Regions from separate parts of the Homo sapiens genome. Here regions 2, 3, 4, 5, 6 and 7 are each linked to region 1. The links are contacts of gene promoters, found by promoter capture Hi-C in blood cells and fetal thymus (Javierre and others, 2016). All regions are on one chromosome and are shown on one strand. Each heading gives the region's core, a stretch centred on a gene start or on the middle of the fragment in contact. The rest is flanking DNA. Distances are from core to core; before and after follow the strand shown.

Region 1 (3,470 bases), core at 248-2,747:
GCCCCGAGGTAGAGAAGGGCACAGAGGAAGCAATGGTCAGTTTTGCCTGAAGAAATTAAGTAAGGAGGGGAGATGACCTTGAGTTAGTCCTTTCAAGAAAGTGGACAGATTCATTGGAAGGACATGCAAGAAAAAAAAAGGTGGACAGAGAGCTTAGTCTATTTCAGTCAGAGAAAGTAAAGCAACCCAAGGCATAGAGATTGGAAACAGCTTGGAATTCCCAGGGATTTGTAATCCAGGTAAAGCCCAGGAGAACAGCAAAATCTCTGCTGCTTGAGAGGCAGACAAAGGCCAGATCACAGCAGGTTAAAGGATGAGTTCCAGGGTGCTGCCTTGGATGTATGGTGGTGCCATTCAGGTAGTTGGTGAACTACAGGAGGAAGAACAGAGTGTTTTGGGGAAAGGAAGGTAGATGAGATGCACAGAAGACATTCAGGCAGAAATATCAACTAAGTAAGTAGACCTATGTGTTCGAAAGTACTGGGCTGAGGCCTTCCGTTTCCTTATTTTTTTAAATAAAGGGCACAGAGAATATAACAGTACCTAGTTCCCAGGGTTGTTATTGGGACTAAATGGGGAAATGTTGAATGTAAAAGCACCTGGCTCAGGGACTTGCCCATATTAGGTGCTGAATACATGGCAGATATTATTATTTCTCCTGTCTCTTTGCTCTTCCTCCCTCTGCTTTGTTTCTTGTCTCTCTTCTTTTTCCTCCTCTTTAAAAGAATTGTGGTAGGGAAGAGGCACTGAAAATGGGCTGTGGTTGCTTGTGACTTCCTGGCCTCCCATTAAAATGAGCTAGAGAGAGACTTTCAGGCAAGCGTAAAGAAATCCTGGAAACATGGCTCCTATCCTGTGGATTCAGCTTTACGGGGATCTTCGCCAATGCCTGGCTGAGAGGCGGTCTCAGGGGGTTGAGAACTCTATTCTTAGAGGTCTGGTATCTGGGAGACTGAGAAAGCCTTTCTTAAGTCTCCCTGCTGGGCCACGCTGTATTCACAGATCATCTTCAACTCCTTCTTCTTCCCCACCTACTCCTTCGCCCTCACCTCCTTGGCTTATCTCTTGCTAGAAAATGCACCAAGCTCCAATCTCCGTTCCTTTTAGCTTCCTCCCTGAGAAGACACTGTGACCTCGCTGTCCTTGTTCGTGTTACCATGGAGAGGTAGGAGGATAAATATCGCTTCCAGTTGTCAGCTTTTTTGTTTTCTCCTTTCCCTCTTAGACAGCCCCCAGCCCCAATCCCAGTACCCGTTTCACCACCCTCCCCTGGAGAATTAGCATAACCGGAGTAAATAGGTAATCAAGCAGTGTGCTTGCAAGCCTTAATTTTGGGACAGATAAGGAAGTGAAATTGATTGGAATTATACCTGCCGCTGCTGGAGGCTGAGGGAGGCGGCCGCCGGAGGCGAGGCCAGCTCTGTCGGCCCAGGGCCCCGCCCCACCCCCTCCTTCCTCCCTCCTCCTTCTCAGCCCCACCCTTCTCCACCTCCTCCCACTTTGCACTCTCCTCTAGCGGCCGCCTGTCCTTTTTAAGGAACTCCACCCTAGGTGGAGTCCTCACGATAGTCACACCTCTCCTTTGGGCCTAGCAGGGCCAGAGAAAGACGGAATCACTCTACCCACTCAGGTTGCCCAGAGAGCACTTTAGGTTCTGACTCGCGTGGGGCGCGAGGTACCCCGTGGGGCAGCTAGGTGCCTCCAAGAAACCCCGCCCCAGAGGACCCGCACGAGTTGCTGCCATTTTTCGCTGAAGCCCCTGCCCTGGGGCTGGTGTTCTTCTCTATGATTCTACCAATCGTCGGCATTTTTTTCCTCCCTTCTTTCTTTTTAGGAAGGCGCTGGGGTGTGCGGCGGCAACGGCGGCGGTGAAGGGATCCTCTTGTGGTATCTCCTCGTGGGTTCCTGTCTTGAAGGATTTCTTCTCCGCCTCAACTTTATGTTCAAGTAGCGCTTTGGGGGTTGGGTTGGTTTTCATAGCCCCCACCCCCGGCCCTCTCCTTTTAAAGGGTGTGTGGAGTTCAGAGGATGGGTGGAGAGCGGGCTTGGCCGGAACTGAATTGGTAGAGGTAAAAGGGGAACGGAGGACCTTAAGCTCTGGCCACTTCGGCCCAGCGAACCCACTTTATTTTTGTCCAAGGAAAAGCTGCAGGGGGGAGGATTCTTTTTAGGAAGTCTACTCTGCCGGCCCCTGATTTTTGGGTTGGATGCTTGAGAGCTTTGTTTCCCTTGTTCCGAGAGTGGCCCAGCTGGGTCTGAATCGACTCCCTCCCCTTTCGACCCCCTCCTCATTTTCCAGCCCGGAGAAATAGGGGAGTGGGGGCCCAAGAACGAGAAGACGAGAACGCGTCGCCCTGCGCTATGTCAGAATGGGGCGGGTGTGAGGGGAACAGCTCTCTTGCGATCAGCTCAGGAGTATGAGCCTCCCGGAGGACGGCATGAGTTCTGGACACTTCAGGAGTCCTCAGCTAGTGACATGGTCGGTAAGTGACTCTGGGACTAATACCCACCCACTCCCACCTCTTTCGTCTAGATTCTATCCCCCTCCCAGTCCCCCTGCTCCCCCCACACACCCCACTTGGGGTTTCAGCAGTGGGGGCGGGAGCGGAAGGTTAAGAACACTATGTGGAATCAAATGAAACTCAAGGGAAAATGACTTTGCTAAAGGGCTGGGCAAAGAAAGGCCAAGAAGGAGAGGAGAGAGCTTGGTGGAAGAAGTGAAAGGGGGCAAGAATGGATGGATTTGTCTAGTCTAGTCTCCCCTGGCTCGGCACTCCCAATACTCCTTAAGCGGTAAGGATTGTCTTTGACTTAACCCCACACAGCCAAAGTCACAACCAGAGAGAACAGGATTCACAAGGCCAAAGCTCCCAGGTAACCCCCTGAAGCCATAGCGGGTACCTAGAGAAGCTTCTGAAAAGAAGGAGGAGGGGACAGTGGTTTAAGGTGCAAAGTTAGGCTATTGGAGGCACAGAGTGAGGCCTGGAAGCAGCTGCGGGGGAGGAGCTGCTTTGGGCGTGCCAGCTCTTTAAGGAGGGGCTGAGCTTGGTTGGAGAAGGAAGCCAGAGCCTAGGCTCTGCTCCGGCCCTTTAAGACGTGGCCAAGGCAGTTGGTTCGTCTGTGTAGGTGGAAGACTGACTGGGCCGAGTTGCTGTGATTGCTGAAGTGAATCCATTTGTTTAGCCACTTGGCGGAGCTGTCTTTTTGTGGGCTTTTTTTTTTAACCCTAAGAATTTGGGAAAAAATAAATCACATCCAAACAGGTGGCCAAAGGCACCATGTCTTATTTCTTTTGGTATTATATTCATCGTGAAGAAACGCATTTATTAAGCACCTGTCACCCAGTGTGGTAATAATTGAGCAAAAAGAATAATCTTTAAATTTGGATTTGAAACTGATGGAGATTGCCATGGTTTGGGGTAATCTGCTTTGAAACCCTAGTATCACCACTTATTAGCTGCATCACCCTG
Region 2 (3,470 bases), core at 1-2,500, 890 kb after region 1:
AGGCAGCGGCGTCCCCACCGCTTGGCTCGCTAGCCCTCCGCCTCCCTGCTGGCGGTGGCGGCCCCTCAGCCACATCGGGATTCCACCAGTCCCTGCTGTCGCCGCGGCAGTCTCCTCCCTCTTTCCGTAGCGCAGCTTCCTGCCCAGAGAGAGGCCTCCTCTTCCTGTCAAACACCCGGCTCTCCTCTCCACCAGGCTCCCACGCCCACCACACAGCCTGTAGCCCCGGCGGAGCTATGGGCTCTGACTCCGCCTCTTTCCAAATCCGGAGTAGTTCGTGCCACAGTCGTCCTCGGAACCCTGTGGCCCCTTCCTCACCCGTTTCAGGGCCACTTGGTTCCCACCTCCACCTTCTTAGTCTGCCTGCCCTGCTTTCCATCTTCTTGGAATTCGCCTTGCTGCCGCCCCGCGCCCACCCCCGCGCCCACCCCTGCCCCTGCACCGTCCCATGCCCTTATGGATTTATTCTTTACACGTAAATATGTCTTTCCTCTTTTTGAAAGGATTTGGAGTTGGAACAGAGAAATTCACTATGGTAAGTCTGCCATTTTGACCCAGTCTCTACCTAATTTTTGCTGACTGATATTTCCTGGCATTTTTGTTTTTGTTTTCGAGGGATTTTTTTTTCCTTTTCTTTATTGCAAGATAATTGCATGTACAACGTGAACACTATCTACATTTTAGGAAATTAATATTAAGAGGAAAATCATCAACTGCAGTCCCATCTCCCATTTTTGAGGGCCTCACAGCAAAATATTAATGCTCATAGTTTTTTTTCCTTTTTCCTAAACTTTTGCAAAACTGGGATTTGTTTTTTATCTGCAATTCATGTCTATTAATTTTTCCAGGAAATTAGATGTTTTCTAATCGATTTTTTCATTCAACAAATATTTATTGAGCACCTGTTACATATCTTGCACTTGGTCCGTAAAACTCAATTTTAAAGTGATTTATAATTTGGCTTTTCTCCCAGTACTGGGCATTTGACATAATATTTCCACAATAACCAGTAATCAGATCTATGTATCGGAATAGAAAGCTTTGCAAAAAAATAACTTTATAAGAAATAATTAAAGTTATAGTTTTATAAATCAGTGGAGAAACGTTGGGTATTCTTTAAGGAATGTTGAAATAATTATTTAAATATTTTGAGAAAGGTTGTATACTAATGTTGTACCAGTATCAATATTTGATTTATTAAAAGGTAAAAAGCAGCAAAATAAAATTGAACAGAAAGCAAATGAACCAACCAAAAACTCTGTAAACAAAACAATGCTTAATGGTATCTTTCTTATTCAGATACTTATGGTATTTGAATGAGGGGATGAGTCGGATGTTAACAGAACAACTACACTTAATAAAATAACATCTACAAGGAAAAATAGAAGTAATAATAATCTCGATTCAACAGTCAAAGTATGAAAGAACATTAAAATATTACTTAATGTCATTGATCATGAAAAAGCTTCATATCTAGTGCTGATGCAAGTGAAAGTTTATACAATTTTTATGGAAAGCAATTTGCAGATATGTCATAGTTTCAGTGAGGGCTTTTTATTTTATTTTCATTTTTATTTTTTTAAATTATATTTTAAGTTCTAGGGTACATGTGCACAATGTGCAGGTTAGTTACATGTGTATACGTGTGCCATGTTGGTGTGCTGCACCCATTAACTCCTCATTTACATTAGGTATATCTCCTAATGCTATCCCTCTCCCCTACCCCCACCTCACAAGAGGCCCCATTGTGTGATGTTCCCCTTCCTGTGTCCATGTGTTCTCATTGTTCAATTCCCACCTATGAGTGAGAACATGCGGTGTTTGGTTTTTTGTCCTTGCGATAGTTTGCTGAGAATGATGGTTTCCAGCTTCATCCATGTCCCTACAAAGGACACGGACTCATCATTTTTTATGGCTGCATAGTATTCCATGGTGTATATGTGCCACATTTTCTTAATCCAGTCTATCATTGTTGGACATTTGGGTTGGTTCCAAGTCTTTGCTATTTTGAATAGTGCCGCAATAAACGTATGTGTGCATGTGTCTTTATAGCAGCATGACTTATAATCCTTTGGGTATATACCCAGTAATGGGATGGCTCGGTCAAATGGTATTTCTAATTCTAGAACCCTGAGGAATCGCCACGCTGACTTCCACAATGGTTCAACTAGTTTACAGTCCCACCAACAGTGTAAAAGTGTTCCTATTTCTCTACATCCTCTCCAGCACCTGTTGTTTCCTTACTTTTTAATGATCGCCATTCTAACAGGTGTGAGATGGTATCTCATTGTGGTTTTGATTTGCATTTCTCTGATGGCCAGTGATGAAGAGCATTTATTCATGTGTCTGTTGGCTGCATAAATGTCTTCTTTTGAGAAGTGTCTGTTCATATCCTTTGCCCACTTTTTGATGGGGTTGTTTGTTTTTTTCTTGTAAATTTGTTTGAGTTCATTGTAGATTCTGGATATTAGCCCTTTGTCAGGTGAGTAGATTGCAAAAACTTTCTCCCATTCTGTAGGTTGCCTGTTCACTCTGATGGTAGTTTCTTTTGCTGTGCAGAAGCTCTTTAGTTTAATTAGATCCCATTTGTCAATTTTGGCTTTTGTTGCCATTGCTTTTGGTGTTTTAGACATGAAGTCCTTTCCCATGCCTATGTCCTGAATGATATTGCCTAGGTTTTCTTCTAGGGTTTTTATGGTTTTAGGTCTAACGTTTAAGTCTTTAATCCATCTTGAATTAATTTTTGTATAAGGTGTAAGGAAGGGATCCAGTTTCAGCTTTCTACATATGGCTAGCCAGTTTTCCCAGCACCGTTTATTAAATAGGGAATCCTTTCCCCATTTCTTGTTTTTGTCAGGTTTGTCAAAGATCAGATAGTTGTAGATGTGTGGTGTTATTTCTGAGGGCTCTGTTCTGTTCCATTGGTCTATATCTCTGTTTTGGTACCAGTACCATGCTGTTTTGGTTAGTGTAGCCTTGTAGTATAGTTTGAAGTCAGGTAGCGTGATGCCTCCAGCTTTGTTCTTTTGGCTTAGGTTTGACTTGGCAATGCAGGCTCTTTTTTTGTTTCATATGAACTTTAAAGCAGTTTTTTCCAATTCTGTGAAGAATGTCATTGGTAGCTTAATGGGGAACGCATTGAATCTATAAATTACCTTGGGCAGTATGGCCATTTTCACGATATTGATTCTTCCTACCCATGAGCATGGAATGTTCTTCCATTTGTTTGTATCCTCTTTTATTTCCTTGTGCAGTGGTTTGTAGTTCTCCTTGAAGAGGCCCTTCACATCCCTTGTAAGTTGGATTCCTAGGTATTTTATTCTCTTTGAAGCAGTTGTGAATGAGAGTTCACTCATGATTTGGCTCCCTGTTTGTCTGTTATTGATGTATAAGAATGCTTGTGATTTTTGCACATTGATTTTGTATCCTGAGACTTGGCTGAAGTTGCTTATCAGCTTAAAGAGATTTTG
Region 3 (3,470 bases), core at 256-2,755, 820 kb before region 1:
AAATACCATTTACAACAGCATCACAAAACCAGAAATACTTTGGGGTAAGTTTGATAAAATATGTACTCTGAGAACAAAACAACATTGTTTAGAGACCTAATTAAAGAAGACCTAAATTGATTTGAGAGTCATATGGTTTTCTTGCTAGGAAGCTTTTTTTGTAGCTATTGACAAGATGATTCTAAATTTTATGCACAGAAATTATAAAACATTAGTGAGATATATAAAAGAAAAACTAAGTAGGTAGAGAAATATACTACATTCACTGGAAGGCTCAATGTTGTTAAGATCATTTATTCCCAAATTTATCTACACTGTCAACACAACCCAGGTGAAAATATTAGCAGGTTATTTTGTTGAAGTTTACAAGACTGCTAAAATTTGTTTGTAAATTATATGGATCTCTAACTGACAAAATAATTTTGAAAAAAAGAACAAACTTGAAAGCCTTAAACTACCAGATTTCAAGACTTATTATAAAGCTACAATCAAGACAGTGTGATACTGATATAAAGAAAGACATATAGAACAGTGGAACAGAAAAGAAAGTTGAGAACTAGATCTAGAAATAGTAAGATCAGATCAAATTATCAACCATGCAAATAAAAGAATTACTTGGGGCAGGGAGTTAGAGTCAGTGCTATAAAAGCACAGTCAAGTTGTACATTCCCAAAGTACTTTGGTATGTTTATTTTGCACATAAAATTGACAAATAAATTTAATCTACTTGTTTCTATGCAATATGTAGTCCTAATTTGCAACATGTGTTTTTAAAGAATCTTCAATTATGGCTTTAGTAGATATCCAGCCTAAGACAGTGAAGAGTGATACAAACTAATTCAAATTAATGATTTAAATCAATTCAAAGTATTGGCAATAATATTAAAATAAGCTTAGTTACAGAAGTATCTGACAACTGTTATATCTCAAAATTTTGCTGAGATTTAGCATTTTCTCAAGAGATTAATTGCCTAAATGGTAATATTTACATCAAGTTAAAGATGTCAGTTTAGGCTTCCCCAATGAGAGTTAAACGCCAACTGAATAATTTTGAATCCTCTCTGTCTGGAATTGTGCTTAGCTAGTCAAACCAAAAAAGATTATGTTTCACTTTACATATAATTCAAATTGATTATGACTCTGGCTGATGAGCACCATTTCAATACCATCTCACTTGTATATATGATAATTTCAGATAAGAAATTATAATTTCTAAACACTATTCTAACTTTCTGAGATTAAGACTAATGAATGTGAACAGCATTTTTATTTTCCACTAACTGTAATTTGGGGTCTCCATTGGGTCACTTGGGTTATAATAATTGCATCTGATTTGCCACAATTGTGTAATCTTAAAACATCTAAAATTTAAAAAATAGACAACAGAGTGAGTATCCTTAAAATGGGGAGTTGCTGTCCACCAGTTATATAGTATCAGTTACGCAAGATGAATACATTCTTAACATCTGCTGTACGACATTGTGCCTATAGTTAACAATACTCTATTGTGCACTTAAAATGTGTCAAGGGGATAATCTCATGTTTAGTGTTCTTAACACACACACAGACACACAGGCACACACACGGACACACACACACACACACACACACACACACACACACACACACGAGAGGGGGGAAAAAGCATCTGTAACACCAAGAATGAGTCTCCAAAAGAGAATCATCCTTTGTTTAGAGAGAAAAATGCTTTATGTAACTTCTTACTAACTGGAATTGTCCTATACCCAGTGATATATAAATTATGACCTGAATATTTAGAAAAATTCTGATATCCAATATTCTTCCTCCTGTCCATACACAAGGTAGAAAATTACCTGGAAATTTTATTAGTATGTCTCTCACATTCAGAGATAGCATAAAAATCTTTGGCAGTTCATATGTCCTAACTTTAGATTTACATTATATGTTTACTAGAGTTAGCACTGAAGAACAAGTTAATTTACATCATCACAAAGATATCTTTGATATCTGTCTCAGCTTCTTTGGTAGAAATTGACTTCTCATTAAACTTGCCTGATAAAATACAGGATACCTTGTTAAATTGAATTTTAGCTATATGGTGAATATTTTAGCATAATTATATCCTGATTATCACAAGAAGCTTATTTATACTATAAAATAGTTGTTTATCTCTGTCAATTTGGGTTGATGACTTGTGAAGGATTAAGATGATGAATATAATGATTGAGTGGGTTCTACTTACCACTCTCTACTACCTAACACATTTAGCCTGTGATATAATTGTGATCATGTCTACAATGAGATGAAGTAAACAGGAATATGTGTTTGAATAAGTTAACAAGAATGAAATTCAGAGAAATAAAGAAATTAAAAATATGAAAGAGAAATTAAAGGATATGGAGAATATGGTATGCAGGTTGTACACTCATCAAATTGTAATGTCAGAAATAGATAACAGAAAGAATAAGAAATAGGTGATATTAAAAATATAAAGGCTGAGAATATTTCAGAAATTATGAAAGAAATAAATCCTCAGATTCAGGAAGTCTAGTAAACCCCACATAGAATATATAAAACTAAATTCACACCTAGACTTATTATAATAAAACTACAGAAACCCAAAAACAAAGATATGTTCTAAGCAGCAAAGAATATGTAATTATCTACAAAAGAATTACATTTAACCTCTTAGATGACATCTCAATAGGAAGAGTAAAATCTAGAAGACACTATAACATCTACAAAGTGATTTAAAAAAATAAGGATTTGGGACAAGATGGCTGACTAGAAGCAGCTAAGGTGCATGCCTCTCACGGAGAGAAACAAAAGGGGCAAGTAAATATAGCACCTTCAACTGAAAAAACCAGGTACTCACATTGGGACTAATCAAGGAAACAACTCGACCCACAGAGAAAGGAGAAGAGCAAGACAGGACAAGAGCCCACCTGGGAGTGACACAGAGCCAGGAGAACCTCCCCAACCCAGGGAAGCAGTGAGTGAATGATTGACCCCAGGAAACCATGCTTCTGCCACTGATCTTTACAACCCTTTGGTTGGGAGACCCTCTTATGAAGACAACCCACCAGGGCCTTCAGGCTGACACGCAGTGTGAAATCTCGGCAGAGTAGCCACTCAGGCTTGCATGGAGGCCCAGGAGCTTTACATACTCCAGCTCCGGGCTTCCTGGCAAAAGTGACTGCAACTCAGGCAAGGCAGGGGGTTGAACCTCCGCACATATCTCTAGGAAGGGGGCTGAGTAGCAATGGTCTGTGGGCCCCACTTCCACTAAGCCTCCCAGGATAAGACCCACTGGCTTGGAATTCCAGCCAGTGTCACCCATACCTGGGACAGAGTTCCCAGGGGGAGGGGCGGGCCACCATCTTTGTTGTTTGGGTAACTCAGCCATTCCAGCCTGCAGGCTTTGGAGAGTCCAACCAGGAGCAGAAGGGATCCCTAAGCACAGCACAGCTGCTCTACCAAAACATGGC
Region 4 (3,470 bases), core at 456-2,955, 780 kb before region 1:
AATTCTCAGAATGTGGGACAGCAGATGGAGCCAGACTACTGTTTTGAGTAGGTCATGTCCCAGAACGCGTGCAAAGGTTATCCCAAACGGAGGGCTGGCTCAAGAGTGCTCTGTGTCCTGGAGAGGTGCTTTCTTTGCTTGACCAAATTGATTTATTGCTAACTTACCCAACAGGAGGTCTCGGTGGGCTCTAATTATAAAGAAAATTTCAGCAAGACAGGCATAAAGTATTCATTTGTTTCTTAAGAGTTCAGTTAAGAACACCTATAAAATCTTTTCCATCATGAATTCCTTCAGCACGCATTTATTAAATGCCACACTCACACACCGCTTGGAAAACCTTGAGAGGCAAAATCTGTGCTTACCATGTAATAAATGCTTTTCATTTTTTATCTCATTTAATTCTCACAACCCTATGAGGGCTGTACTTTAGCCCCACTTTATAGATGGGAAAACAGGCTTAGAGAGAAGTGACTTGCTTAAACTAATACCTTGAATGACATAAGAAAGATATAGAGTGCTAGTTATAGGGCTTTCCTCAATGGAGTAAAAATGGACTCATTACCCTTTTGGGCAGATCAAGACAAGCTTCAGGGAGAAACAGGTCTGTGAGCAGTCAAATGGAATTTAGATAGTTGGAGAAGGCTGAGAAGACAGGTCAGGCAGAGCAAACAGTGAGCAAAAGCAAGCAGTGGATAAAGTTCAGAGTATGCTCTGAAAGAAGCAAAATAAATCAGGAGTCCAGGAAGACTGGAGCCTAGAAACCTTGGAGCCAATCTGAACTCCATCATCCCCTCCACATTCCCCACTTCATCCATTCTGTCTGCAAAGCCCTTCAACGGTCACCTTTAAAATGTCTTTCTGCCTCTCCATCCCCATGGCAACAGCCTTAAGGCATACTTTAGTTCCCAGTGCTTCTTATTCCAATTGCTTCCTATGTGGTCTGCCAGGAAACAGTTTGCTTTTCTGAGAGGCTGCACAAATGCAATTCCTCTGATCCTGTCACTGCCCTGCTTTCATACATACATACATACATATATGTGTGGTAGATATATGCACTGTATATAAACATAATGTGGTAGATATATGCACGATATAGGTATGTATGTATGTATGTATAAAAGCAGGGCAGTATATATATCGTGCATATATCTACCACATTTTAAAGGCTCTGCACCTCTTTCACCCTGCTTGTTTCTGCAGTCCCATCTCCTCACATCATCCAGCACATCTGCCATAACAATATTATCCGGGTCCTACATGGGACCACAAATTGATTAGTATACACACAAATGCCTTCTGAAAACAGGGCGAGTGAATGAACGCGCTGTGTAAGCCAAGACAGGAAAGGAAGGCTGGAGACAGCTGACTCCTTCCAAGAATACACCCTCCCGCCACCCCTGGCCTCCCAACCCCCAACACACACACAGCCCGTCGTCAGTGGGAATGGAGCCGACGCACTCCTTCCCTAGACCGTCGAGCCAATCTTGGAATGTTTGTAGTAGGCTGAAAATACAGAAACTTTAAGCTATTTTTTTCTCTTCTGCAAACTCCAGGCCCCTCCAATCTCTAGCTGTCATTTCTGCCCTTGTCCCACCCCTGTCGCTGCCTGCCCCTTTTCCTATCTGCTAGCGGAAGTCCCTGTGGAGGACCAGCCTACTTCCTCTTTGGTGCTAGGAGTGTGCGTGGCAGGAGAGGCGGGGCCAATTTTGCTGAGCTTTCTCGCGGGCTTGCAGCTGCGGCAAGTGCTGGCGGCGGCTGCTCGCGCAAGTCAGCTGGCGTGGGAACTACCCTTTGTAGCTGAGAACGGCTTGTTTATTGCTACAAAGACTCTATTGACATTGGTAGCTTCAGCGGCAGCAGCTTCTTACGGTATAAAGCTGTTGCTTCCTGAAGAGGCTACAAGCATCCTTCCCTAGGACTGCTGTAAGCTTTGAGCCTCTAGCAGGAGACATGCCTCGGGGACGAAAGAGTCGGCGCCGCCGTAATGCGAGAGCCGCAGAAGAGAACCGCAACAATCGCAAAATCCAGGCCTCAGAGGCCTCCGAGACCCCTATGGCCGCCTCTGTGGTAGCGAGCACCCCCGAAGACGACCTGAGCGGCCCCGAGGAAGACCCGAGCACTCCAGAGGAGGCCTCTACCACCCCTGAAGAAGCCTCGAGCACTGCCCAAGCACAAAAGCCTTCAGTGCCCCGGAGCAATTTTCAGGGCACCAAGAAAAGTCTCCTGATGTCTATATTAGCGCTCATCTTCATCATGGGCAACAGCGCCAAGGAAGCTCTGGTCTGGAAAGTGCTGGGGAAGTTAGGAATGCAGCCTGGACGTCAGCACAGCATCTTTGGAGATCCGAAGAAGATCGTCACAGAAGAGTTTGTGCGCAGAGGGTACCTGATTTATAAACCGGTGCCCCGTAGCAGTCCGGTGGAGTATGAGTTCTTCTGGGGGCCCCGAGCACACGTGGAATCGAGCAAACTGAAAGTCATGCATTTTGTGGCAAGGGTTCGTAACCGATGCTCTAAAGACTGGCCTTGTAATTATGACTGGGATTCGGACGATGATGCAGAGGTTGAGGCTATCCTCAATTCAGGTGCTAGGGGTTATTCCGCCCCTTAAGTAGATCTGAGGCAGACCCTTGGGGGTGTAAAAGAGAGTCACAGGTACCCCAAGGAGTAGATGCCAGGGTCCTAAGTTGAAAATGATGTCGATTGGGGGCGGGGGACACTGTATTTGATATTTGTGATCAGTGATCATTGTTCAACTGCGAAATAGAGTGTTTGCTTTTGATAATGGAAAATTGTATTCGTTTTAAAATTCCGTTTGTTGAGAATAACAATATGTTTAAAAATATAATTGAACAAATTTTTTTCTTTGTTTCCTGTCATTGACATTTAGTATAACAGTTTTGCTAACGTTCTAAAATGAAGTCGTTCCATCATAATCTATGATCTTGTACAGCACTTATAGAAATAAGCTGTTCTTTTGAAGTTGAAATACCCAGTAAAATGTTGAAGAAGGATGGAGGATTTCTTCATATCTGACGTTTCTGAAACCCTTTGTGTCTGCTGTTGTGTGAAGATTGACATTTACCATGATTTTCCTTAGTTACTGCAGAACATAGAGAAAAATAAAAGCCTAACGAATAGTACATCTTGCGCATTTTCTGACCACCTGTTATGTGAGGCACCAGTCTAGATTCTAGGGATACTCCCTAGTACACATCCTCCAGGTCCAAAGAATGTTCTAGATTATGTGGGAAAGAAAAATAGGTAAACTGGCAGTGCAGTAAATGCTGGGATAGAGAACGAGCCTGAAGTGCCATGAAAATGTAAAAAACCTTATGTGACCTGTCTTGGGGAGTGGGCCGGGGAAGGGAGCACCATAGGATGTGTGAAAATTCAAGAGACACTTAAATAAGTTTGGGGGGGACTGAAATATACGATCAGAATATATGATGAAAATATTATGTATTA
Region 5 (3,470 bases), core at 540-3,039, 760 kb after region 1:
TGAGTGTAAGAGAAGATGGGTAGAACTTTCTTCCAAACATTTTTGAGAGATGCAAGTCTTTTCCTTTTCTTGAGTCAGGAGCATGGAGAGAGGAAGAGGATAGATCCCATCATACCCTTGTACATTTTCATTCTCTTAAGCCACAATGGTTAATGCTCAAGACTCTGGTCAACAAACAGGGCTGTGGCTGTCCCCTTCCAGGGAGACCAACAGTATCTTAGAAAAGTTCTGCTCCCATCAATGTAAGATTGGTGAGCAGTTGTTTTTGCCCCCAAGAGGCTCTGAAATAAGTCAAAATAGAACAGTAATTAAATTAACTCTAAGGCTACATTACACCCTAGACTGAAAATTTGATCACAATTGCAGCCCTAATTTACAATTATGTCCAGCCATATTTCCTGACATAGCTGACAACAATTATACAATGACTCCCAAAGATAGCATTAAAATACTCCAAATAATACAATATCAACAACATAATAAAAATGCCTTAGTTTGAACTATATGACCTCACCCCCACCCCATCAACTATTAAACTCCAAGGGAAAAAGGACTGCCCAAAATTAAATTTCTAATTCAAAGTCCAAAATAATTAAAGTCCAAAATTCTGCCTTTCCCAATTTCTCGTTTTTCTCATTTCAGCCATATAGATCTCACAAAGATGTCTGCCCAGATATGGGGTTCCTTCAGCAGCTGCAGCCTTGGCTGTCTTCCTCTTGACTGGGTGAAGTTCCTTCAGGACCTCAGGAGTTGAATTAATCTAACCCCACAATTGCATGTCATACATATTAAAGAGTCCAAAGGGTCAAGAAGACATAAGATTATCACAATATCAACCTCACATCAAAAAAATTAGAAAGCACACTAGTCCCCAGCCACTAGAACAGTTTTTTTAAGCAAATATATGACCCCAGGACTTAGAACATAGGGCAATACAGACCCACATTGCTGTTGTCAGTCAAACATCATAGTAGAGACTTAGTGGCATCAAAAAGCAAAAGTAGACAGATAAAACATAGGAGAAAAGAGAACATCTTCTTTGTTTCATCCTCAGCAGGATGCCAATCTGTGCCGGTAGTCTGGACTCCATGACCTGTGAACTTAAACTAATTTGGAAGATATCTTGCAGTACAGTCCCAATATGATTGTACTGCCTTGAGTCCCAGCCCCAAATGTGCAGAACTCCATGGCCTTATTAGGCTGTTACTGCTAATGGAGCTTCTGTGAGAACCTCAATGAGAAAGCTTTGGTTTTGGCCAGGTGCTTCTCTCAAAAACCATGCTTGTACTTCAACTTTTCTTTCCTAGGCTTTGGTTAACCTCCGCCAATGGCTCTTTAATAATGGAAAGCTCAAAGGCCCTTCCATTGTTTACTTTTCTGCCACAGTAGAACTCACCCTTATCTGCATATAAGTTTCTTAGGGCCAGCCAAGAAACAGGATAGTTAAAAATCCAAACACTAACAAAAATCTATTAGATTTCTATCTACCAATGCCAGCACTTAAAACATCATTAAGCCTACAGATTACCTACCACTGACTGTGTTCCAAGTCCTGCTGGGATACCATAATAGATGAGCCCACCAGTCCCTGCAAGGAAGTATAGCCTGCTTTCAGCCATTCTTGGTTCTCACAAGTGCCTTGCCCACCTCACATGCTGGGACTCTGAATTCAGTCTCCTAAGAATCAAATCTAAAACTTGAGTCTCTCTTAGCACAGCAAAGAAATCTGTATCTCAGTTTGATTCTAGGTTTCTCCTCTTTCATTTTGAGGTTCTGGACAGATCTGTCCAAACCCAGCCAAACCCAGCCTTTGCCTGTGACTGAGGGCTCTAGCTAGAGCCTGGCTTAATGCTCCTCTGGGCTGGCAAAGACCATTTGTGCTAAAGTCTGCCTGCACAGCTTCTATCAGTTAAAACCTACTCCATGTCTGCAGATACCAGCCAGAGCTATTGGAGACAAGAGAGACCCTAATGCCACTGATGACTAAAACCTTTCACTTAAGCTCCACCAGAAATCTTGATCTCTCCACTTGGAGTTTGGTCCCCAAATGCTTGTCTTCTTATCAGTTTTGCAAGGTTTCTCAGCCTATGGTTAGGTACTAAAATGCAAAGTAATTACCTTCTTAATTCTAAAACAGTTGAGCAATAGGTGAAAGAACCGGAAAGAGAGCAAAATTATTAGCCTTACTTTTAGTACAGTTAGAACTGAGAATGCAACTTGAACAAGAGACCAAAATGGGCTTCCCACTCTTTCCCAAGTTAGATTTTTGAAGCCACTTGGGGGAGATTTGAGATTGCAAAGACACTTACCCAGCCAGTCACATGGGATATCTCAGCAAGCTTCACACCTCAATGAGTGTAGAGTCCAAGTGCCAAAAAGAGTGAGGTGAGAGGTGTTCAGCTACCTTTAATCTATTAACACCACCCAAGATAAAAAAAAGTATGAGCCAATGGATGTCAGACTTTACCCTTCTCACTAATCAGTTAAATTGCGGAGAGGAACCAGTGAAAAGGTTGGACAGATGGGCAAAAGGTTTCTTCCAAAAACGTATGAGAGGGCAGAAGTTCCAATTTTTTTGCCAAGCAAAACGTGCAAAAAGGGAGAAGATGGTTCTTACAAACTGGAAAGCAATCAAGACTTTCTGTGTCTACAGATTTAGAGTCTCATATATTTGGCAAATTTCAAGATGACCTCTAAGATGTTTTTACCAAATCGTAGACATAGATATGGAAATCATCATCAAATTTGATGAAGTACACAGAGGGTTTTGCTTCTACCTGATGAATGACCATGCCAGTTCTCTTGGAGCCATCGTCTTTGGCGTATTCCACCTGTTTGCCTACCAGGCTGTCTATGACTTCTCCTGGCTCCCTCTCTGCCAGAGGAGAATCATTGGAATCTTGAAGGATGCGGAGGTCACCATCTTTATAATCATCTAAGAGCTGGTACATATATAATACAGGATCTTTCTCATAGGTAATGTAAAACCATGTGTTCATGACAGGTGCCTGAGCTAAGACCATCCCCCTCCATTCATTTTTGGAACCTTCCTCTGTCTCAAAAATATGTTCCACTGCTTTGCCAACCATTATTTCTGCCAAGTGTGTATCACTGATTCTAGATGATGCAACTCTATTAGGAAGGACTTCAAGTGATGACACTCTTTCATCTCTGTGAAGTTCCAATCCATAAACACAGTCAAATCCATCATATTTGATAAGATACAGAGAGGGATTTACAGGTACCTGATCCAGAACGGTTCCTTTCCACTGTGTTAGAGGTTCATCTCCATCTTTCCATCCGTGCTGAATTCTGCAGCCCACGATGTTCCCCCGAGGCTGGGAGGTGGGTCGGCTCCTATGCTTCTTGTGTGCAGCCTTCCTCTTTATCATGGTAACAGACACACTGCCGTGGCCAGCGCCCGTCCTGGACCGCTGCCCTGCAGCTGCCTTTCCAAACGGGGTCTTCAT
Region 6 (3,470 bases), core at 368-2,867, 700 kb before region 1:
ACAATAGCGATTCTGATTGGTGTAAGATGATATCTCACAGCAGTTTTAATTCTAATTTCTCTGATTATTAGTGATGTTGACCATTTTTCCTATGCTTGTTGGCCATTTCTGTCTTCTACTAAAAAATAACTATTCATCATGTCCTTAGCCTTTTTTTTTATTTTTTATTTTTTGACAGAGTCTTGCTCTTGTCACCCAGGCTGGAGTGCAGTGGTATGATCTCCGCTCACTACAACCTCTGCCTCCCGAGTTCAAGTGATTCTCCTGCCTCAGCCTCCTGAGTAGCTGAAATTACAGGCACCTGCCACCGCGCCTGGCTAATTTTTGTACTTTTAGTAGAGATGGAGTTTTGCCATGTTAGCCAGGCTGGTCTTGAACTCCTGACCTCAGGGAATCCTCCTGCCTCGGCCTCCCAAAGTGCTGGGATTACTGGCGTATGTGCCCGGCCAGCCCACTTTTTTAATAGAATTATTATTTATTTATTTATTTATTTTTAGTTATTGTAGTTCCTTGTAAATTCTGAATATTAGACTCCTGTCAGATGCATAGTTTGCTAATATTTTCTCTCATTCTACAGGTTGTCTCTGTTCACCCTGTTGATTACTTCTTTTACTGTGCAGAAGCTTTTCAGTGTAACTAAATCCCATTTGTCTGTTTTTGGTTTTGTTGCCTATGCTTTTGAGATATTAGGCATAAATTCTTTGCCTATATCAAAGTCCAGGAGAGTTTTCCCTAGGCCTTCTTCTAGTATTTTTATAGTTTTGGGTTTTACATTTAAGTCTTTAATCATTATTGAGTTGATTTTTTTTAATATGGTGACAGATAGGGGTCCAGTTTCATTCTTCTGCATATGGCAATCCAGTTATCCCGGCACCATTTATTGAACCCAGTGTGCTTTCTCCAGTATATGTTCTTGTGGCTTTGTAAAAAATCTGTTAGCTTTAAATATGTGCCTTTATTTCTGGGTTCTTTATTCTGTTCCATTGATTTACATGTTTATTTTTATACCACTATCATGCTTTTTCATTTACTGTAGCCTTGTAGTATAATTTGGAGTCAGGTAATGTGATGCCTCCAGCTTTGTTCTTTTTTCTTAAGCTCACTCTGGCTATTGGGGCTCTTTTTTGGTTCCGTGCAAATTTTAGGATTTTTTTTTAGTTCTACGAAAAATGACATTGATATTTTGAAAGGGATTGCATTTAATCTGTAGCAATCTAAAGCAATTGCTTGAGGCAGTTTTGCCATTTTAATGATATTAATTCTTCAGATTCATGAGGATAGGATGTTTTGCCTTTTGTTTGTGTCATCTACAATTTCTTTCATTAGTGTTTTGTAGTTTTCCTTGTAGAGATCTTTCATCTCCATGGTTAAATATATCACTAGGTATTTTTTTGTGGCTATTGTAAATGGAATTGTCTTCTTGATTTGGTTCTTGGCTTGACTGTTATTTGTGTATAGAAATGCTACTGATTTTTGTATGTGGATTTTATATCCTGAAGCTTTACTGAATTCATTTATCAAGTCTAAGAGTGTTTTGGTGGAGACTTTAGGGTTTTCTAGATATAATCAGCAAACAGGGATAACTGGCTTTTTCTTTTTCAATTTGGTTGCCCTTTTTTTCTCTCTCTTGCCTGATTGCTATTGAATAAGAGTGGTGAAAGTGGGCATCCTCGTCCTGTTCTAGAATATTTTTGAACCTAGGATTAGCATGAGTTGGGAAGCAGTTATTTTCCTTCAAGCTTTTGGGAGAATTTTTAGGAATGACATTATTTCTTGCTTAAATATTTGGTAGAATTCAACAGTGAAGCCATCTGGGCCTGTAGTTTCCTTTGTGAGACAGTTTTAAACTATAAATTTAATTTCTTCATTAGATGTGGAATTATTTAAGCTATCTATTTCATCTTGAGTTAGCTTTGTTAGTTTGTACCTATCAAGGATTTTTTCCATTTAATGTAAGTTGTGTAATTTATTGGCATGAAGGTCTTCATAACATTCCCTTCTCTTATTAAAATCTCTAGAGTCTATAATAATGCCATCTCTCTCTTTCTTAACATTGATAATTTGTCTTCTGTCTTACTTTCCTGATCACCTGCGTAGAGATTCATCAATTTTGTTGACTTCTCAAAGAAACCAACTTTTCGATTCATTGATTTTTCTCTATTTTCTGCTTTCTATTTCACTGATTTTTGTTGTGATTTTTTTTTCTACCTACTTTAGGTTTAATTTGCTCTTCTTTTTCCATTTTCTTAAGGTGGATGCTGAAATCATAATGTTGAGACCACTCTTTACTTCTGATATTGATGTATATGTAATGCTATAAAATTTCCCCTAAGTATTGTTTTAGTGGCATTGCACAGACTTTTTCCTTTTTAAATTTTCATAGAGTAAAACTGATTTATTTTACAGTAAAATTCTATAAATTTTAATGCGTATATAGATTTATGTTACTACTACCACAATTAGAGTATGGGACAGATGTATCACTACCAAATATTTTCTTATGCTATCATTGCATGGTCATACCACCTCCCCACCATTTATCTTCCAGGGTTTTATAGTTTTAGGTTTTACATTTAAGTGTTTAATCCATCTTGAGTTGGTTTTTTTTTTCTTTCTTAATCTGGCTGTGTTGTCTTTCAACTCTTGGACCATTTTCTTGTGTTTCTTGGATTGTATTTCAACCTTCTCCTTTATCTCAATGAGCTTCCTTGCCATCCAGATTCTTAATTTTATGTCTGTCATTTCAGCCATTTCAGTCAAGTTAAGAACAAGTACTGTGGAACTCATGCAGTCATTTGGAAGTAAGCATCTGCTGGACTGAAGGAGCCAAGATGTTCCCAGTCTACTAGCAATAACACTCCAATGGAGGCCTCTGGCAAAAGCGCTCCAGCAAGGTAACGGCAGGTCTGTGCCCACACATGCACTGGTGAGTCTGTAGGGGTCTCCATGCTCTTGCGTGCTGGTGGTGGGTGGTGGCAGTGGGTCCCTGCATGTGTGTGTGCTGGGAAGGCAGCGGAGGGAGGCTATGGGCAAGTGTGCACTGGTGGGTAAATGCTGAGGGTGGGTGGGTTCATGCTACTGGGGGAAGGCTGTGGGCAGGTGTGCATCAGTGAGGGAATGCTGCTGACAGGTGTGCACTGGTGGCAGTCTGTCTGCAAAAGTACTCCAATGGTTAGGTGGGTTCTGCAGGTGAAACAGCTATTGCAATGTATGCTGGCAAGCTGAGGCTGTGCTGCAAGCAGGTGCCATCAGGTAAGGTCCCTGGGAGAGGCCAACAGATTGGGGGGGCACTCACATCACACTGGTCTTGTCCCATGGGCAAGGCAGCCCTGCTCTCTTTAGATCTGGCAGCCAAGCTCACAAGGGCTACAGCCACCTAGAGGAGGATGGTGAGCCTTGGGGGCTAGGCACACATGGCTATGCTCCACTGAAAGCCATTCCCATGCCAAATGCTTGGGGCTCTGTGCAGG
Region 7 (3,470 bases), core at 468-2,967, 570 kb before region 1:
TTTTCTAACACAGTTGGTAGGAAGAACACAAACCTTGGAATGAAATATGAATTCCTTCTCCATGAGTCAAGTGTTCTTGGTAAGCCTCCATTTCAGAGCCTCAGTTTTCTTACTTATAAAATGGGGCTAATATCCCTATGCAAATGGGCTTTATTCAGGATGTTATAAGGTAGGGTGACTTGGCTTTCTACATGCTATTAAAGGGTGCATACAATACTGTGGACACCACAGCTGAGAAGATCAGACAACATTCTAAGAAGATAAAACTAGTGAAATTTTGTACACCACATTAAAGAGTTTCATCTGATTTAGCAAGGACTGTATTTTCAAGCATGCAAAATAAACGTCGAAGAAAAAGAGAAGATTCATCGTATCCAGGGACGGCATGAAGCTGCAAACTATACTCTTCACTTTTCCAGCCAACTTTGAGCAAGTGTTTGAGATCCTTTCCTAATGTTTTCTTTCCTCCTGTTACTGTTTATGGCATAATGCATGATGCACATATAGGCCTCTCCTGCCCACCCCCCAACCATAGATATTCTTTCTTTCTCTTCCCAGCACCTTGAATCTCAGCTGCACCCCTGATCTTCTCTCTCCTCACCAGGTGTAGGATCCCGACTTTCAGTTGGTGGTTCCTCTTGCTGAGGTTCCTCATCACTGGGCTCCTGGAACCAGGGGTGTGTGTGTGCAGATAATTTGTTATCAATACATTTCAATAATATAAATATACAGAATACATAGATATTTCTGATCATAAGTCTAAAGACATTTCTCCAGCACTCTTCCACATACTTATACTTCATAAAGTTACTCTTCCCACAGAGAGGTTACTCTAAGACAGTTGCCCTCAAGGGCTCTGGAAGCTGTTTTAATCTATGTTGGGATGAATGTGTGTAATCTTTTGCAAATAAGCATGAGAAGGAAATCGTGGGCAAAATCTGGGGAACACAAGATCATCCATCCAGACAACAGAAGAACTTAATCCTCTTGGATTAGTCTTTCCTTCATGAGATGCCATGATCATTTTTATCAGCATGGAAGACCTTTATTGGTGAATCCATACTGGTTCAACAACAATTACAAAACATAGTTTTGTAACAACAAGTTACAAAAATAACTTTCTGCTAATAGAAAACATCAAAGGTTAAGACACTCACCAGCATAGGCCCAATCAGCTCAGGAGGTGGTACGCTTCTCCTTGGTCTAGGCCTATATGTTGATCTTACTCTCCAAATCATATTTCACACTGCAAACAGAATACTGTGAATTGGTAAATGCACTTGAAAGGACAGCTGTATTTGACCACTTCCATGACCAAATGTTAACTTGTCATTTTTTAAAAGTTTGTAAATACTTTCGAACTAAGTCTCAGGGTAAGTGTAAGTATGTGTGCCTTCCAAATGCTCGCAAAGTCACTTAAGTTGGTCAAGCTAGCTGAGCAATGTCTCATAGCTCCTGGCAAAAGACATAGGATATTTCCGATGAGGTTTGGTTTCACAACTGAACTCTCCTCCGTGGAGGCATTTAGGAAAATACAGCCAGAGAATTAAAACTGCAGTGACCACGACTTTTGTCACCCACCCATTTGCTAGGCCCGTTTCCCCCCTAAAATCAAGTTTTGTTGGAACGCAGAGCCCCACCCATTCAAATCTCCACAGTGGAGTTGAGAAGTTGCCACACAGCACTGGGCCCTCCTCACTGTACACCTCTGCCAGGCGTTCTACAGACCTCAGGGCCATGGTCACCAACCCGCAGTGTTCCCAGTTCCCTTCCTTAATGCCCACCCCGCTCCTTCCTGGGTCGCCACGGAGGAGTCTGGAATCTGTCCTCTGTCGAGGGTTTCAGGGACTCAGATACCTGCCCCAGCACCCCCAGCACTCACCCCATCTTCATCTGACCCCTCTCAACTACTCGGTCCACCTTCTTCCCTCGTTCTGACCCTACCACAACAAGGCCCACAGCGGTGCCACCTCACGAGAAGAAGGACGAGCACTTTGAGACCCTTCGGCCTCTGAGGCCACGTACCACCCTGCCCCACACTCAGGACGGCCGCTGGCTCCTCCTCACACTCACTCACACTTCAAGCCCTGGGAGGACTGGCCTGTGGACCTACCGGCTGCGTCTCAGCAGGACAGAAAAAGTCCCGACAGCAGGAACGCGATCCTCAAGCCTTCACAGCTCCCTGGCGTTCACCACATGGGCAAAGGGGCCGAGGGGAAGACGCCCAGTGGACATGCGCAGTGAGGTCGGTGCCTGCCTGGTGGGCTGTGGCACCCCTCCTCGCCCCACCCCATCCCGCACCGCGCAGTCCTCTGCCTTCTCCCAGGTTTCCGCTGAAGAGTATGGAATGTGTCTTCTGTGGGCGGTTTCATATGCCTCCGGGACTCAAATACCACAAATAGTTTCCCCCTTCAAAACTCACTCCATGTTCACTAGGTCCTCCTCCCCTCTATGGCCCTCCTTCCTCCCCTGTCTGGGACCCCCACGACAGCAAGGCCAAGGCTGTGTCACCACCTGTTAGGAGAAGGACAGGAACCTCAAGGACCTCCCCGTCGGAGGCCATAGACCGCGCCGCGGGCTCCTCCTCACAGTCTCTCCCACTTCAACTCTGGGAAGACTGATCTTCGGACTTACTGGCTGACTCCTAGTCAGCAGCACAGAAGGAAGTCATGATGTCTCCTTGCACAGCTCTGCAGGGACAGAAGGCAGACAGCAAGGCACATGGACAAGGGACTTGGGCAGCAAGGGATGTGCACACTGAGTCAGGCACATGCAAGGCCACCCGGGGTTTTCCCTCTCTCCCCAGGCTCGCATCCCTAAGGTGTTTGTAGTAGAAGGAAAGGGACTAAGAGGCTTTGTTCTCTCTCTTGCCCTACCATTCTCATGCATCCAGAAACACTGGGAACAGACAGTCCCATGTCACCATTAGTGGAGGATGTGGCTCAGAAAGACCTTTTGTGACAGAAATAAATTACTTTAATATCTCTATTTATACATTCTTTTTTCTCATTTATATATGCATGGGTGCCTGCCATGTTGCAGGAAATATCTGGGATGCTGGAAATGTGAAGACCAAGGAACCACACGTGGTATGTTCCATGGAGGCTACCACACTGTGGTGGGGAAGACAGACAGTTAAACTGAAGAGCAGTTGAACTGCAAAGGAGAAACATGGGGAACAGACCCAGGGGAGTAAAGAACAATGAATGTAGTGGCCAAGAAGCAGGGCGAAACAACACAATTTCTCAAGAAGATAATATTTCTCCATTGCCTTTGCACCTTTTTTGAAAATGAGTTTATCATGTCTGTGAACCTATTGCTGGACTCCATTCTGATCTGTTGATTTTTCCCCAGTACCACATTCTCTGGATTACTATAGAATTAGCATGACTCTTGATATTAGGTAGTGTGAGTTCCCCAAAGTTATAGTTCAGAATCGTTTTGGCTGTTCTGGTTCCTTTTCCTTTCTA

The links. Contacts are between HindIII fragments. The CHiCAGO score rates a contact against its expected background, and 5 or more counts as called.
Region 2: a fragment that was not itself captured here is called in contact with the fragment with the promoter of KLF8 in region 1 in 2 of 17 cell types (M1 macrophages and M0 macrophages); the score reaches 5.2 in M1 macrophages.
Region 3: a fragment that was not itself captured here is called in contact with the fragment with the promoter of KLF8 in region 1 in 5 of 17 cell types (erythroblasts, total CD4 T cells, endothelial precursors and 2 more); the score reaches 7.7 in erythroblasts.
Region 4: the fragment with the promoter of MAGEH1 here is called in contact with the fragment with the promoter of KLF8 in region 1 in 15 of 17 cell types (total B cells, M0 macrophages, megakaryocytes and 12 more); the score reaches 22.5 in total B cells.
Region 5: a fragment that was not itself captured here is called in contact with the fragment with the promoter of KLF8 in region 1 in 2 of 17 cell types (M1 macrophages and M2 macrophages); the score reaches 6.6 in M1 macrophages.
Region 6: a fragment that was not itself captured here is called in contact with the fragment with the promoter of KLF8 in region 1 in 1 of 17 cell types (erythroblasts); the score reaches 5.7 in erythroblasts.
Region 7: a contact is called between a fragment that was not itself captured here and the fragment with the promoter of KLF8 in region 1, in 1 of 17 cell types (erythroblasts). The highest score is 5.2, in erythroblasts.

What each region holds. Positions count from the first base shown.
Region 1 is chrX:56,230,859-56,234,328 of GRCh38, forward strand. It overlaps KLF8 (KLF transcription factor 8), which reads left to right and starts at 1,498. Exons shown (of 6, transcript NM_007250.5): 1 at 1,498-2,483. The coding sequence starts at 2,477. The HindIII fragment of the contact is 3,283 bases long and covers 1-2,908 here.
Region 2 is chrX:57,121,433-57,124,902 of GRCh38, forward strand. SPIN2B (spindlin family member 2B) reads right to left here and starts at 116. Exons shown (of 2, transcript NM_001006681.2): 1 at 1-116. It also overlaps a transcript of FAAH2 not described here. RefSeq lists a silencer at 284-403. The HindIII fragment of the contact is 426 bases long and covers 1,038-1,463 here.
Region 3 is chrX:55,413,367-55,416,836 of GRCh38, forward strand. No RefSeq gene overlaps it. Among named protein-coding and RNA genes, the nearest start is that of MIR4536-2, 36 kb to the right of the region's middle. The HindIII fragment of the contact is 1,230 bases long and covers 891-2,120 here.
Region 4 is chrX:55,450,422-55,453,891 of GRCh38, forward strand. It overlaps MAGEH1 (MAGE family member H1), which reads left to right and starts at 1,706. Exons shown (of 1, transcript NM_014061.5): 1 at 1,706-3,145. The coding sequence starts at 1,954. The coding sequence ends at 2,613. MIR4536-2 (microRNA 4536-2) reads left to right here and starts at 1,074; the gene lies at 1,074-1,161. MIR4536-1 (microRNA 4536-1) reads right to left here and starts at 1,161; the gene lies at 1,074-1,161. RefSeq lists enhancers at 1,919-1,968, 2,119-2,168. The HindIII fragment of the contact is 1,343 bases long and covers 587-1,929 here.
Region 5 is chrX:56,991,478-56,994,947 of GRCh38, forward strand. It overlaps SPIN3 (spindlin family member 3), which reads right to left. Exons shown (of 2, transcript NM_001010862.3): 2 at 1-3,470. The coding sequence starts at 3,470. The coding sequence ends at 2,694. Among named protein-coding and RNA genes, the nearest start is that of SPIN3, 2.3 kb to the right of the region's middle. The HindIII fragment of the contact is 1,095 bases long and covers 1,243-2,337 here.
Region 6 is chrX:55,532,889-55,536,358 of GRCh38, forward strand. No RefSeq gene overlaps it. Among named protein-coding and RNA genes, the nearest start is that of USP51, 45 kb to the left of the region's middle. The HindIII fragment of the contact is 240 bases long and covers 1,498-1,737 here.
Region 7 is chrX:55,655,777-55,659,246 of GRCh38, forward strand. It overlaps the pseudogene XAGE-4. Among named protein-coding and RNA genes, the nearest start is that of FOXR2, 34 kb to the left of the region's middle. The HindIII fragment of the contact is 7,881 bases long and covers 1-3,470 here.